Regions from separate parts of the Homo sapiens genome. Here region 2 is linked to region 1. Evidence: promoter capture Hi-C in 16 types of primary human blood cells and fetal thymus (Javierre and others, 2016). All regions are on one chromosome and are shown on one strand. The core of a region is centred on a gene start or on the middle of the fragment in contact, and the rest is flanking DNA. Distances in the headings are between cores, read along the strand shown. Region 1 holds the start of UBE2L6 (ubiquitin conjugating enzyme E2 L6). Region 2 overlaps ZDHHC5 (zDHHC palmitoyltransferase 5).

Evidence for each region. Contacts are between HindIII fragments. The CHiCAGO score rates a contact against its expected background, and 5 or more counts as called.
Region 2: a contact is called between a fragment that was not itself captured here and the fragment with the promoter of UBE2L6 in region 1, in 1 of 17 cell types (neutrophils). The highest score is 5.7, in neutrophils.

The regions. Positions count from the first base shown.
Region 1 is chr11:57,566,231-57,568,930 of GRCh38, forward strand. It overlaps UBE2L6 (ubiquitin conjugating enzyme E2 L6), which reads right to left and starts at 1,442. Exons shown (of 4, transcript NM_004223.5): 1 at 1,355-1,442. The coding sequence starts at 1,381. RefSeq lists an enhancer at 1-192 and a silencer at 1,446-1,805. The HindIII fragment of the contact is 19,025 bases long and covers 1-2,700 here.
Region 2 is chr11:57,698,598-57,701,297 of GRCh38, forward strand. It overlaps ZDHHC5 (zDHHC palmitoyltransferase 5), which reads left to right. Exons shown (of 12, transcript NM_015457.3): 11 at 1-821; 12 at 1,269-2,585. The coding sequence ends at 1,434. Among named protein-coding and RNA genes, the nearest start is that of MED19, 12 kb to the right of the region's middle. The HindIII fragment of the contact is 3,103 bases long and covers 1-2,700 here.

The DNA.
Region 1 (2,700 bases), core at 192-2,691:
CCAAAGCCTGAGGAAGTTGAAACCCAACCTAAAACACACAGTTCTTTCCTACTGCCTACTAGGAAATCACCTGACTCAGAGGAACAGAAAATGAAAGTAGAAAGGCCATTAAGAGAGCCTGCAGGCTGGAGGCCTGTGGACCTGGTTTCATATTCCAGTCCCATTGCTCCTTACTGAAAGACTCTGGACAAGCAAGTTATTTCCTCTGTGCCTCAATTTCCTCATTTGTAAAATGCGGGTATATATTACTTATCTCACAGAACTGCTGTGCGAATTAGATGAAATAACCATGTAAACCGTTTGGCATGTAATGGTTCCAATGCAATAAATTCTGGCTCCCATCTCTCTTCCACTTGGCTGGAAAGACCCTCTGCCTCATTTTGCTGCCAACCTCCAGATTTAGTATCTAGGCCAAGCCTGCTCTGGGCATCCCAGTCTGAGGCCATTTTCTTCTCAGAGGCTGAGGGTAGCAGGCACCCTCTTCCTAGAGCCTGCCCCTCCACCCTGCAGACTGGAAGGGGCACTTCTGAAAGACTTGGGGTGCCAGACTCACTTCACCAGGATCACCTTCCTCCCTAATCCATCTCCAAACACCCTGGGTTTTCCCACCTTCTGGAGGAAACTGCCCCCTCCCCATCCTTCCAGATCTTATTTCAAATTGTGTCCCTGATAGGAACAAAATTCAACAAGGGCCGGATTTGTGTTCATCTCTGCCCGCCCCCCCCCCCCTCCTAGAACAGGGCCAGCACATGTAGGCATTCAACACTTGTAGAACTCACGAACGCAAGCCACCTACTCCAGGAGGCCTTCCAGGTCCACCTCCGCATCTTTTCCTCCAGAGAATACTCAGGGAACTTTGTCCCAAATTCTAATCAGCATTCCGTGTTTCTCAGGACTCTAGTAATACAGGCATCAAATTATGGGATGGGCTATGGGCTTATTCCAAGGCAAGGACTTCATCCTGGTCATCTGTGTTCATAACCCACCACCAGCAGTAGCAGAATGCCTGGCACCAAGATGCCAAGGACTTTTCCTGCACTGGAGATGCACCCAGTTGTTATCACAAGTTTCAGGCAGGAAAAGCGAAATTGAAACCAGTTTTGGGGGAGCCGGCTCATCTTCACCACGCGAACGGCTCAAGCAGAGGCCTCCAAACCCCCAAAACCCCAGCTCTGGCCACTCTTGCAGGCCAGTCCTCCTCTGAGTAGAGGGCGGGGAGGACAGGGATTCAGCCAGCCCTGGTGCCCAGACAAATAAATAAATGTGCTCGGAGAGCCGCGGAGGGGATGGAGGGAGGAGGGAATGCGGGAGGCGAGGGGAGCCAAGAGAAAGGGGTCATCCTATACGCGGTTACCTTCACCACTCGCATGCTCGCCATCATGTCGGGACCGAGTGTGTGGCACCCGTGGCCTCCAGCAGGACCGAGCTCCGACCCGCGACACAGCGCGCCCCGCCCCGCCCCGGGGACCCCACCCCCGGCAGCCCCGCCCACCCCTCCTCCAGCCGTCGCTGCGTGGGCCTCCCCGCACCCGCTCCGGCGAGGCCAGGAGGCCGTCGAAGGACGACCCGCCGGACAACCGCCCGATCCCCGCGCGGAAGGCTCGGACCCGGGACTCACGGTCTTTGTGCGGAGACGGGGGCGGGCCTCGGGGCGCACGGCTTTGCTGATCCCTGCCTCCCGCGGGGTGCGCCGTGCACCGGCGGCGAGCGCTCAGGGGCGCTGGGGGGCGCTCATACGGGTTCCAGTCTTCGCTCCGCCGGCGGCCGCACCGGGAGCTCTCCGGTCTTTGTCAGCCCCCTGCACGCCGCCCCAAATACACACTCGCCCTGAATAAATAAGGGATGCTCGCTGTACAGACGCAGCTCCGTGACAGTTCTCAGCGGCCTCCACTATCGGACTGCCGCCTTGAGCCCCTGCCCCAGCAAGCTGCCGGAGCCGCCGAGCCTGCCGCCTTCCCTCCATGGGCCCAGCGCTCCATCTCCGAAACTGCGTGGGGGATGGCGTAGACCTGTGCCCTCCGAGCACCGCTCCCCGGCAGTCGGGGATCCTTTGTGCTGCCCGGCGTTCGGCGCGGGCTGCAACGTTTCTCCCCGTGGCTTGGGGCAGAGCACCGCAAGGAGGCGCTGTTGGACCCTTTCTCTTTTGCTTTGGGGGTTCGGTCTACCATCATTCAGTCCTTTACTAGGTTTAGTATTTACTAAGTGCCTACTGTATGCTGGTTTGGGAAACAGTTGGTGGGGGAAGCCCCAAGAAGGACTCAGGAGCCTCCTTTCCAAGAGAGAGTCTGCTTCCCCTCCCTTACTTTACTACTGGTCCATTACAAGCTGTGGGCCTAATGTGTGCCCCCATGCACAGCTGGAGTCCCCAACCCTCTGTGCAAGGACAGAGTACTTGCAGCCCCTGAGCACCAAGCAGCATCTGGGGAAGATGAGACTTGTTGGGAGGGCCGATCCCCTCCTTCTCACCCTTCCCTACCCCCGTTTAGTCCAGACGAGAAAGGAAATCAGTATATTTTGAGCACCAGTTTGTGATCTCAGTACCTCACAGTTTTTTTGTTTCTTGTTTTTCTGACAGAGTTTCACTGTCGCCCTGACTGGAGTTCAGTGGCGATATCGGCTCACTGCAACCTCCGCCTCCCGGTTCAAGCTGTTCTCGTGCCTCAGCCTCCTGAGTAGCTGAGATTTACAGGCGCGCGCCAC
Region 2 (2,700 bases), core at 156-2,655, 130 kb after region 1:
GCAGAGAGCAGCCGTCACCCCAGCTACCGCTCAGAGCCCAGCTTGGAACCAGAGAGCTTCCGTTCTCCTACCTTTGGCAAAAGTTTTCACTTCGATCCACTATCCAGTGGCTCACGCTCCTCCAGCCTCAAGTCAGCCCAGGGCACAGGCTTTGAGCTGGGCCAGTTGCAATCCATTCGTTCAGAGGGCACCACCTCCACCTCCTATAAGAGCCTGGCCAACCAGACACGCAATGGAAGCCTATCTTATGACAGCTTGCTCACACCTTCAGACAGCCCTGATTTTGAGTCAGTGCAGGCAGGGCCTGAGCCAGACCCACCTTTAGGCTATACCTCTCCCTTCCTGTCAGCCAGGCTGGCCCAGCAACGGGAAGCTGAGAGGCACCCACGTTTGGTGCCAACTGGCCCAACACACCGAGAGCCCTCACCAGTCCGTTACGACAATCTGTCGCGCCACATTGTGGCCTCTCTCCAGGAACGAGAGAAGTTGCTGCGCCAGTCACCCCCACTCCCGGGCCGTGAGGAAGAACCAGGCTTGGGGGACTCAGGCATTCAGTCAACACCAGGCTCGGGCCATGCCCCTCGTACTAGTTCCTCCTCAGATGATTCAAAGAGATCACCTTTGGGCAAGACTCCACTGGGACGCCCAGCTGTCCCCCGTTTTGGCAAGCCAGATGGGCTAAGGGGCCGGGGAGTAGGGTCCCCTGAACCAGGCCCAACAGCCCCATACCTGGGCCGATCGATGTCTTACAGCAGCCAAAAAGCCCAACCTGGTGTCTCTGAGACAGAAGAAGTGGCCTTGCAGCCATTACTGACACCCAAGTAAGTATTAGTACTATCCTGACCCTTAGCCAATTTCAAATTAGCATACTGCTCTGCAAAAGCTATCAGGGCTTCTGTTGTACATCCTAATGTAGGTGGACCCAGGGGTATCCTGGTAGCTCTTTATTTTCACTTTGACTCTACCTGCCTTCATGGGCAATTCCTGTTAAGAGACTGAAGATTAATACTTTTTCCATAATGCTATCTTCCTAAAAGTATTTGCTTGGGAGTAAGTACATGTGATAGCTGTTACTAGAGAGTAGTAGTACATAGGAGAGATTGGGAATCAGGCTTATTTTAAGCAGGGCAATAAAGGGGAATGTTTGGGTAAGAAAGTATGGATATAGAAAAGAACATCATTTTTTTCTCTGAACCTTTGAAACTGTCTCCCTTTCCAATGTTTTCTGTCCCATTTCCTGACACCTACGTCTTGTCTCTTCTTTCCAGAGATGAAGTACAGCTGAAGACCACCTACAGCAAATCCAACGGGCAGCCCAAGAGCTTAGGCTCAGCCTCCCCTGGCCCAGGCCAGCCACCTCTCAGTAGCCCCACGAGGGGAGGAGTCAAGAAGGTGTCAGGGGTTGGTGGTACCACCTATGAGATTTCGGTGTGAGCCTTCGGCACCTCCCCTCCCCAACGCCTCTGCGCCTACACCAAAGGGCCCCAGGTGGCCACCTTCCTTCCCTCAAGGGGCTCCCCTCCCGTGCATGGACATTTTTTAAACCACCGATTCCAAGAGGATGAGGAGTGTTTTCTAAAATGCAGTAGGCTTGGGGAGTCGGAGAGTTGGGGCCCTGAGACTGGGGTAGCAACCCCCCCTTTTATCTTTTAAGACCTTCCCTTCCTTGATCCCTGGACCAGACTCAGTGGACATTTGTGCAATTGCTCGCCCTGGAGGGAACCAGATCATTTTTAAACCAGAAATAATTTTTTTTATTATTGTTACGGATTCTATTTTTTTCCTCTTCTGCGTTACCAGGTGTGTGTGTACATATAATATATATATATATATATTATAAATATCAAAGAAATTATATATCTATCCTGGGATGGGAAAATGAGGGAGGGATACATATACGGAGGGGGATCTTACTCTTCCCATTCCTCAGACCAGCAGGAAAAGAGGGGAGACGTCAGTCTTTTTCCTGTGGTTCCCTCTCATTTGTCCCAGTTACTAACTACGGAAATAGCATCCTCTGCTGGTGCTAAGTGTGATTAGGAAGAAGCCTGGGGAGAGGTGAGTCTGGAATTTTGGTCACAAGAGGGAAGGACTTGGAGAGGAGAATTAGTTTTCTAGGCTCATTGGCATTTAGTTTCCCTAGGAAAGGGGTCAAAACTTCAAGACACTGGTGGTGGTGGGAGATCAGGAAAATAACTTGGCCTAGCTCAAACAATATTGGATAATCCCCTCCTTGGGGGAGAGGGATTAGAGTGTGCTCCTACTGGCCCCTTGGAGCCTCCCCTAGCTTACACAGTTAACTTGATTTTAAAATCCAAGGCCAGGAGAGAAGAATCCAAAAAGCAATATTTTTCATCACATGCCAAAAACGGGGGATAGAGAGAAGGAGTGGCAGGCCTAGGCCCCTCCGATTGTCCCTTGGGGGTTACCCCTCAGCCCACCTCACTATGGTGCTGGGTAGAGGGGATACCTGGGTTCTAACCTCTAAATAGGGGAGATCCCAGCCTCCACAAAGAGGCCCTTTTATTTTTTATTCTGATTAGCCATTTTAAACCAACGAGGAATAAAAAGAAATCCTGATCTAACCAGCGCCCCCTGACTTGTGTTATTTTGTCTGGTTGAGACAGGGTGAACGATCTCTGGTGGGAAGTTATCAGTGACAACCTCATAAACTTCTCTGGTCCCAGCCCATCTTTAGGC